Regions from separate parts of the Homo sapiens genome. Here region 2 is linked to region 1. The links are contacts of gene promoters, found by promoter capture Hi-C in human tissues and cell types (Jung and others, 2019). All regions are on one chromosome and are shown on one strand. Each heading gives the region's core, a stretch centred on a gene start or on the middle of the fragment in contact. The rest is flanking DNA. Distances are from core to core; before and after follow the strand shown.

Region 1 (5,130 bases), core at 131-2,630:
TGATGTTAATTTTTTTTTTTTTTTTTTTTTTGAGACGGAGTCCCGCTCTTTAGCCTAGGCCGGATTGCAGTGGCGCAATCTCGGCTCACTGCAAGCTCCGCCTCCCAGGTTCACGCCATTCTCCTGCCTCAGCCTCCCGAGTAGCTGGGACTACAGGCGCCCGCCACTGCGCCCGGCTAATTTTTTGTATTTTTAGTAGAGACGGGGTTTCACCGTGTTAGCCAAGATGGTCTCGATCTCCTGACCTTGTGATCCGCCCGCCTCGGCCTCCCAAAGCGCTGGGATTACAGGCGTGAGCCACCGCGCCCAGCCACATGATGTTAATATTTTCCTCAAAATAAACTCAGAATTTAACATAGTGTTCTTCCAGACGAGTGTGAAGGAAGGCAGGTGTTTTCCCAATGCTGTTCTCCTTGGGAGCTGTCAGCTTCAGTGCAGTATTTCACAGCTAGACTGTGAACAAACGTTAATTCCAATTGGCTCAATATACATTCAACAGTAAAATACCAGAAGTGAGTGGTCTCTGTTGTTCTCCAAAATGTATGATCTGGAACAGACTTTTATCGTGAAAGTGTTCATAGTTTGCACACATCACTCCCAGCTGGAAGTTGTTGTCCAGTTTAACAGTTATATAATATAATCTTTTATGTGAGAATTTTGAATAGCACAACAGAGACAAGAAAACAGACTAACTTCTCCTTGGTATGACCACATCTTGGCAAAAAGTGAAAGTCCTATTTAAAATGTAAAGGAAATCCTATTTGGTGAACCCTGTAATAGGTGGGGGCTAAAAGGGAAATCTAGGTTGCTGGATTTGTCACTAGGGTTTCCTCTAGTAATAGCCAGAGGGTTCCAGTTAGTGTCACCTCCCAGTATGAAAATAAATTTTCTTTCAGGCTTTGTTTGTGGAGTGGTAGGTGGAGCATTTTTTTAGGTCCTGATGACCTGGAAGGTGACTCATAATCACCCTGAAACGTATGAGGACCCTAAGGAAACCTCCCCTGGGGGAGACAGAGGGCTGGGGTTAGAGCCATTGCGTTGGGCTCGTCTGGCACCTTCTGGTGTGTGCGGCACCTGGTGGGGGTTCGGCACGGAGCCGCACCCAACACTGACCCGGGCCCCCCCACCCCTGTCCTGAGCCCAGGCGCTTCGCCCTGTCCCACCTAGCTCTGAGCAGCGCCCCCCAGCACCCTGAATGCGTCCGCAGGACCCCGCGCTCTACCCGCAGGCCCCGCACCCCCTAGCTCTGGGCCGCGCCTCACATCCCTCCCAGAGCCGCAACACCCCACCCGGCGGGACGCCCTCGAGCAGCCGCTCGTTGCGGGCCTGAAGCGCAGAGCGCCTATTGGCCAGAGCGGCCGAGGGCGGGAAAAGTGGCCAACGGCTGCCTCGGCCCTCGGGCTGCTGAGGAGATGGCGTCGGGCTCCAAGGCCTCGGTGCCCGCGGACTCATTCCGCACCATCAGCCCGGACAGGCGAGGCGAGAAGTCCGCCTCCGCTGTCTCCGGGGACACGGCGGCCGCGACCACCCTGAAGGGCACCGCGATCCCAGTGCGGTCGGTGGTGGCCTCCCCTCGCCCGGTGAAGGGGAAAGCGGGCCGGGAGACGGCCAGGCTGCGGCTCCAGCGCCTGCCCGCGGCTCAGGCCGAGGACACGGGAGAGGCGGCGGCGGCGGCGGCGGAGGAGCCCCTGCTGCCAGTGCCTGAGGATGAAGAGGAGGCGCAGCCCCTGCCCCCAGTCTGCGTGTCCCGTATGAGGGGGATGTGGCGGGACGAGAAGGTGTCGCTGTATTGCGACGAAGTGCTGCAGGACTGTAAGGTGAGCGGATCCGGGACAGGAAGACTACGGTCGGAAGCTCGTCGGAACCTGGGGACAGGCATCTGGGGCTTCCCTCTTAGGCGGATGGGGATCCACAGGGCACAACGAAAACTTGCGTTTCAAAAAAGTAAATGGAGTCAACATGTATAGAGCGTTCACCTTGTTAGAGGTGCCCGCGTCCTGCCCTAGAGGAGTTAAGGTTCGAGTTTCCGACAAAATTCGTCAGGTAACGGGACAGCCCTGAGAGAGAATTTTCTGAGAGCTCCTAAAAAATGAAGATATATTGGCCTTATCATTGCACAGGCATGAATCTTGGTACCTTTATTTAACAGTTTATGTCCAAACATGAGTAAGATCACTTAGCCTTGACTTTTACACTAGAATGCTAGAAATTACTTTAAGGGTACTTCCCACTCAGCAGTCCACAATGCGGCATGATATATATGTGTGTGTATATATATATATAAATGTGTGTGTGTGTGTGTGTGTGTGTATATATATATATATATATATATATATATATATATATATATATATTTTTTTTTTTTTTTTTTTTTTTTTTTTTTTTTTTTGGAGACGGAGTTTCATTCTTGTTGCCCATGCCGGAATGCAGTGGGGCAATCTCGGCTCACACAACCTCCGCCTCCCGGTGCAAGCAATTCTCCTGCCTCAGCCTCCCGAGTAGCTGGGATTACAGGCATGAGCCACCACGCCTGGCTAATTTTGTATTTTTTTTTAGTACAGATGGGGTTTCTCCAGTTGGTCAGGCTGGACTCGAACTCCCGACCTCAGGTAATCTGCCCGCTTCGGCCTCCCAAAGTGTTGGGATTACAGGCATGAGCCACCGTGCCTGGTGGCATGACTTTCTTTTATAGAAAATACATATCTGATAAAACGGAATAGAGCAAATATTTCATGTTTCTAACCTATTTTTTTAAGTTGTAGCAGAAGAATTTGTGTACCTGCATATTCACTGCAGTGATATTTATAAAAAGTTGAAAATTAAGACATAAACAATAACTAGCTGTCTTATCTATGAATTATTCGAGTGAATAGATCTCTTTTAAGTTTAATTTTTTGTTGGTGATGTTTTCCACTAGATGCGGTTTCAGTTAAAATCTGTAATTTTCCAGGTCATTCATTATTTAAGGCTATATTGGTTCCATTTTAAAATAGAAATCAGTAAAAAAAAAAAAAACCACTTAGTTTAAAATCTATAATTTCATATATTTATATGTAGATCCATTTTTTCTCTTGTTAGGCAGAAGATGCTGATGAAGTTATGGGTAAATACCTATCAGAAAAATTAAAGTTGAAAGACAAATGGCTTGGAGTCTGGAAGACTAATCCCAGTGTATTCTTTGTGAAATATGAAGAAGCTTCTATCCCTTTTGTTGGTATATTGGTTGAGGTAAATAAATTTTATTTGATCTTTGTTCTTTTTGAATCAGTTCTTTTAAAGACTAAAATATGACTTTATTATTTGGAGATTGATACACAAGAGTTGACACATTTTTACTTCTGTTTTAAGTTTCCGAGAAAATTAATAGTGTAAAAAGAAGGTTAGGGGAATATTAGTGCCTGTAAACCATTATCATTAAATGGAATCTAGTAGTATCAGACAATATTTATTAGCCTAGTTTTTGCTCAACTAATGTAAAAATAACAAAAATGCATTTCTTATAAAATTAGTGATTCAGTCTTTAACAAACTTGGGCCTTCTTTTTCTGTCTTTTCCCTTTAATCTTCATTTATCTGAATTAAGAAGTTTAGTTCAGATGAGGAAAAAAAAAGAAATGGATCAGAAAACTACTGGGAAAATTTGAAATTTTTTTCCTTTGAAAAGTACCCTTTTTAGGGAGGCTGAGGCAGGAGAATGGTGTGAACCCAGGAGGCGGAGCTTGCAGTGAGCTGAGATCATGCCACTGCACTCCAGCCTGGGCAACAGAGTGAGACTCCGTCTCAAAAAAAAAAAGTACCCTTCTAGTATAATATCTTCCAAGCCTTTATCTGATAAGATTTTTCTTTTTTTTTTCTTTTGAAACAGAGTTTCGTCCTGTCGCCCAGGCTGGAGTGCAGTGGTGTGATCTCGGCTACTGCAACCTCTGCCTCCCCGGTTCAAGCGATTCTCCTGCCCCAGCCTCCCGAGTAGCTGGGATTACAGGCGCATGCCACCATGCCCAGCTAATTTTTTGTATCTTTGGTAGAGACGGGGTTTAACCCTGTTGGCCAGGCTGGTCTTGAACTCCTAACCTTGTGATCTTTAGCAGAGAAGGGGTTTCACCATGTTGGCCAGACTGGTCTCGAACTCCTGGCCTCGTGATCTGCCTGACTCAGCCTCCCAAAGTGCTGGGATTACAGGCATGAGTCACTGCACCCGGCCCTAATAAGATTTTTCTTTGTTAGGCCTGTAGGCTAAACATTGTGGCATGTTTGATTCTGTTAAAGGTCAATTATCCTTATATAGAAATTAATATTTATAACCACAAATGATACCCTTACCCCAGATAGTTAGTTTAAATCTGTATTTTTGGATACAAGAAAAACTTATGTATGTAACTTGTTGTATTATATACTACTTGAAAACAATTTAAAAATATGTGTTCTGTGGAAAAGTCAGTGTCAGTTTTACAGATAAAGAATGGCGGCTGGGCGTGGTGGCTCACGCCTGTAGTCCCAACACTTTGGGAGGCCAAGGTAGGTGAATCACTTGAGCTCAGGAGTTAGAGACCAGCCTGAGCACCATGGTGAAACCCCATCTCTACCAGAAAAACAGGCACACACCTGTGGTCCCAGCTACTCAGGAGGCTGAGGTGGGAGGATCGCTTGAGCCTGGGAGGCAGAGGTTGCAGTGAGCCTGGGTGACATAGTGAGGCCCCATCTCAAAAAAAAAAAAAAAAAGAATACCATATTTTCAGTCACAGAGATTACAAAGGAATGTAAAAGATTATTGGGATTAGTTAATTTTTCAATAAGACTCTATTAGTTAATATTTCAGTAATACTGTTTCTTTTCCTTTTTCTTTTTTTTTCAAGATAAGGTCTAACTCTGTTGCCCAGGCTGGAGTGCAGTGGTGCAATCTCAGCTCACTGCAACCTCTTCCTCTAGGTTTCAAGCAGTCCTCCCACCTCAGCCTCCTGAGTAGCTGTGACTGCAGGCGTGTACCACCACACCCGGCTAATTTTTGTGTTTTTAGTAAAAACGGGATTTCACTATGTTGGCCAGGCTGGTCTCGAACCCCCGACCTCAAGTGATCCACCCACCTCAGTCTCCCAAAGTGCTGGGATTACAGGCAGAGCCACCATGCCCAGCC
Region 2 (4,818 bases), core at 2,319-4,818, 250 kb before region 1:
AATCCCAGCTACTCAGGAAGCTAAGGCAGGGGAATCGCTTGAACCTAGGAGGCGGAGGTTGCAGTGAGCCGAGATGGCACCACTGCACTCCAGTCTGGACAACAGTGTGAGACCCTGTCTCAAAAAAACAAAACAAAACAAAAAAACAAACTAGCTCTCCTATGAACCAGCCACCCCATTAGGTGTTTCCTATTTGTTATTTTGTTTTATCTTTTTAGCAACCTAATGAAAGACTTCAATTTTCCTGTTTACTTGTCTGTCTCCTTTATTAGTACAACTTCATATTGCTAGCACCTAGCACAGCACTAGAAACAGATCTTTCTAATTCCTTATTTTTCAAGAGGTTGGTCAAATGGATGGCTATGGATATGAAGAACTATCCCTGAAAGAGTGCAAGCTTCCTTTGTCATCTGCTTGCAAAAGACTGTCACCTGCCTGGAAAAGTTAATAATGTGACTCTTTGTATTAGAATTCAAGACAACATGCCCTCAAGGTCCCAACTGGTTCCACCAACCCCTACTTAAGAGAAACATGTTTCCTTTCAGATTGAAACTGCTAAAAAGACCAATGTCTGGTAGGTTCCCAGTTGTTGGTGAGGTTGAACATCTCCCTCTTGGCCTGCTTGCTTTCCCTGTTTTCTTTCTTTTTCCTCCGTTGTTCCCTTCCTTCTTCTTTTCCTCCTTCCTTCCTTCCCTCTTGTCTCCCCACTGCTCCATCTCCCTCTCCCTCTTTCCGTCCTTTTCAGCTACCTTTGGAGTTACAATTGCAGGGCAAACAGCGGTCCCTTTCTCTGTGCCGGTAAAAGCCATTCTTGCACTTCTCGCAGTGAATGCCATCAGTGTTGTCATTGCAGTTGAGGCAGCGGAATCCATTACCAGTTTGTCTGTGAAGTTCCCGATCAAAGATACACTGCCTGGACTTCCCATTGCAATCACAGACTGGGGAGGAAGCATACAAAAGAGATCGTCAAAAAAAAAAAAAAACACCTCAGGAACTGTTCTAGCAGGTGTTTATGTTATTATTGATAGAAATTATGCATGAGTACTATATGGTAACCTACACTCCTTGCGGGAGGAAGATATGGGAGTGCAATTGGCAGTGCAGGGACCCCGGGGACGCCTGCTCCACTTAAAGGAAGTAGGCACTATGCAATGCTGGTGGGCTGCTGTCTGGGAGAACATGGGCTCAGGGTTGCCAGACTGTCCAGTTCCTCGAGAGAAACCCAAAATGTTAAATTACATTTTTATGCGGATATTTCTGATTTAAATGTTTGCAAGGAGTTCATTTCAAAACACTGCAATCCCACAGAGCAAGTGTGTGGGCTCACGGAGACCTGAGGATGGGCAGCTGCGGACTCAGCACAGCTATTAGCCGATGGTGTCGCTGCTCAAGATACACAACACCCATCCCACCGGTGCCCGTCAAGGCAAAGGAGTGGACGTGACCGTCTGGGCACATGTCTCCTCCCAAAGCCAAGTGTCCCATGAAGAATGACCTTTCTCAAGTATCTAGGAAGCCCATCCTGCAGATGTTCCAAAGAGACTCGCAAAGTGACTAACATCTCCATAAGGACCCGAACAGCAAAGAAGCGAAACACGGAAACACCCAGCATAGTACCCGGCACACTGAGACACCAAAAAATGTTTCCGTCATGGTCTCGGAGAGAGAGATGATGGGCCTTCAGGTTAAAAGGAAAGAATCAAATACCAATTCTGCTATTTCCTTGGGCACATCACTTCAATTTTCTGAATCTTGTTTTTTCTTCCATACAGACTGCATTATCTGCCTCCCTGGATTGTAAAGAGGATCCCTCTGGGAAAAGAATATCAAATGCCTTTGCATATGCGATTTCATCACTCACTCCATGAAACACGTACTGCCTCAGAAGAGAAACATGCAGCTCGGAAAGGTGAAGTAACTCCACCCAGTGGAGAACTGAGATTTGAACCTCTGCCTGATGCGAACACCAACCTCCCTTCCCTACACAGGCTGTCTCTGTTGGCCATGCTGCCATATTGAGAATATGTTTCTAGGGCGTGACTTAACCATAGTGCTGACAATAAAGTCAACAGATGTGCCATCACCTGCTGAGTGGCTCCCTGTGCAGGCTCTGTGTCAGGCACTGACAATACAAGGGGACAATGTACATCTTTTTTTTTTTTTTTTTGAGACCAAGTCTTGCTCTGTCGCCCAGGCTGGAGTGTGGAGTGCAGTGGCATGATCTCAGCTCACTGAAACCTCTGCCTCCTGGGTTCAAGTGATTCTCCTGCCTCAGCCTCCCAAGTAGCTGGGATTATAGGTGCGCACCACCATGCCCAGCTAATTTTTATATTTTTGGTAGAGATGGGGTTTCGCCAGTGTTGGCTAGGCTGGTCTCAAACTCCTGACCTCAGGTGATCCGCCTGCCTCGGCCTCCCAAAGTGCTGGGATTACAGGCGTGAGCCACCGTGCCCAGCGGTGACCACGTACATCTAATGGACCTGCTAAGTGACTGCCTTACAGTAATTTCTATAACTCACTCTTTCTACTTTGGATGACATCTAATCTAGAAAAGTCAGCTAACACTTATCCAAAGCATACTGTTTCTAGGACTTTACATTCGACAGCTCAGTTAATTCTCACAACATTTTAACATGGGTTTTATTATCCCCATTTAATAGATGGAAAAACAAATACTCAGAGAGGCTAGGTATCTTGCCTAAAGTCACACAGCTAAATGGCAAAGATGTAATTTGCTCCCAGATGTGTCTGACTCCAAAGCCCTCATCTTTCCATTTTATGTTCCTTCTCAAGATTGAGTTTACCATTGCATGTAGACATTCTTTTTATAAATCCCTAATAGAGGGTCATTCAGCTTGGTTGTTACAAACAGTAACATTTTTATATGGTGTTTTAAATCTACCTCTCTTTCTGTAATTTTCATCATGTGTTTTTGCTCTTGCCTGAAAACATACACACACAACACACACAGATACATACAGCACTCAGGCACACACAGACACACACACACACACACCCCTACTCTCTTTTTATTCTTTTATTTATCCAACAGACATAATCTTTGGGTGTTGTTTTACATCCAAAGGGCCCTGCGTCATCAGGCTTTTGTGAATCTGAAGATAGCTATGGCATCTCCCTCCTTAGTCTTTTCCTGTTCAAGTTGGACTACAGATCTGTCATCTCCAAGTCTTTCAACCACTTCCTATGTCATAATTTCTAGATTCTTCTTGACTACCATCCTAGGAACAAATTCTAATTTCCAGTATCCTTCTTCATATGACCAGTACTGCAAGTGTGATTTAAACAGCTTGGCTTGTAACAGGACTAGATATTTTTATCCCATGGGCAAAGACTAACATTTCAGTGAACTTACAGCATATTACATTTGCACACAATTCAAAGTCCCAGGGCTTTTCTCAGAACTAGTGCCAAGCTGAATCTTTCCCAACCAATGCTTGTGAAACTGATTTTTTGGATCTCCAACAGATGTGCCACACAGCTGTCATGTGCTGTGAAATTTGTACCAAGTACATGACTATGCACGTACAAGAGCTAAATTCACTGTTCAGCAGTCCTTGCGAGGTTCTTCATCTGGCTAACCCAATGAGCCAATGCCCTCCCTGCCCTGGATGCCTTTTGGAAGCAATCTCAAAATAACTACAAATTTTTCATTGTGCCTTTCTTATTTAGAACATGGGCTGGGCACAGTGGTTCACGCCTGTAATCCCAGCAGTTTGGGAGGCCAAGGAGGGTGGATCACCTGACGTCAGGAGTTTGAGACCAGCCTGGCCAACATAGTGAAACCCCGTCTCTACTAAAAATACAAAAATTAGCTGGGAGTGGTGGCAGGTGCCTGTAATCCCAGCTACTTGGGAGGCTGAGGCAGGAGAATCACTTGAACCTGGGAGGAGGAGGTTGCAGTGAGCTGAGATTGTGCCATTGCACTCTACTGTGGGTGACAAGAGCAAAATTCTGTCTCAAAAAAGAAAAAAAAAAGAACATGCTTTGTGGTGGTAAAAATTAACTTCATAAGGGCAGCTCATTATATATTTATTCAGAGCAATCTTTTCAAAATATATAAACTTGTTATAATCTTTTTCTATCACATCCCTCTTCTGTCTCCTCCTCTAAAGCTCTACTTTGAAAATAATAGGTGTCCTTCTTTTATTTTAATTTTTATTTTTATTGAGACAGGATCTCACTCTGTTGTCCAGGCTGGAGTGCTGTGTCACAATCTCAGCTCACTGTAGCCTCAACCTCCTGGGCTCAAGCGATTCTCCAACCTCAGCCTCCCAAGTAGCTGGGAATAGAGGCGTGTGCCACCATGCCCAACTAATTTTTGTAGTGGTTTTTTTTTTTTTTTCTGTTTGTTTGTTTTTTGTTTTTGTAGAGACGGGGTTTCACCATGTTGCCCAGTCTGGTCGTAAACTCCTGGATTCAAGCAATCCGCCTACCTTGGCTTCTCAAAGTGCTGGGAATTACAGGTGTGCACCACCATACCCAGCCTATTTTCTTTTGTGTTATTTTTGAGACAGAGTCTCACTCTGTCACCCAGAGTGGAGTGCAGTGGTGTGATCACGGGTCACTGCAGCCTCAACCTCCCGGGCTCAAGCCATCTTCTCACTTCAGCCTCCCGAGTAGCTGGGACCACAGATGCATGCCACAACACTCAACTAAATGTGTTACTTTTTGGTAGAGACAGGTTCTCGTGGTATTGCCCAGGCTGGTCTTAAACTCCTGGCCTCAAGCAATCCTCCCACCTCAGCCTCCCAAAGTGCTGGAATTACAGGCATGAGCTACCATGCCTGCCCCATTGTC

Evidence for each region. Contacts are between HindIII fragments. The study calls those that stand out against the background at their distance.
Region 2: a fragment that was not itself captured here is called in contact with the fragment with the promoter of SHCBP1L in region 1 in 6 of the 25 tissues and cell types used here (bladder, heart left ventricle, liver and 3 more).

What each region holds. Positions count from the first base shown.
Region 1 is chr1:182,949,416-182,954,545 of GRCh38, reverse strand. SHCBP1L (SHC binding and spindle associated 1 like) reads left to right here and starts at 1,380. Exons shown (of 10, transcript NM_030933.4): 1 at 1,380-1,817; 2 at 3,079-3,228. The coding sequence starts at 1,413. The HindIII fragment of the contact is 8,802 bases long and covers 1-4,254 here.
Region 2 is chr1:183,204,001-183,208,818 of GRCh38, reverse strand. It overlaps LAMC2 (laminin subunit gamma 2), which reads right to left. Exons shown (of 23, transcript NM_005562.3): 2 at 750-938. Among named protein-coding and RNA genes, the nearest start is that of LAMC2, 20 kb to the right of the region's middle. The HindIII fragment of the contact is 8,578 bases long and covers 1-4,818 here.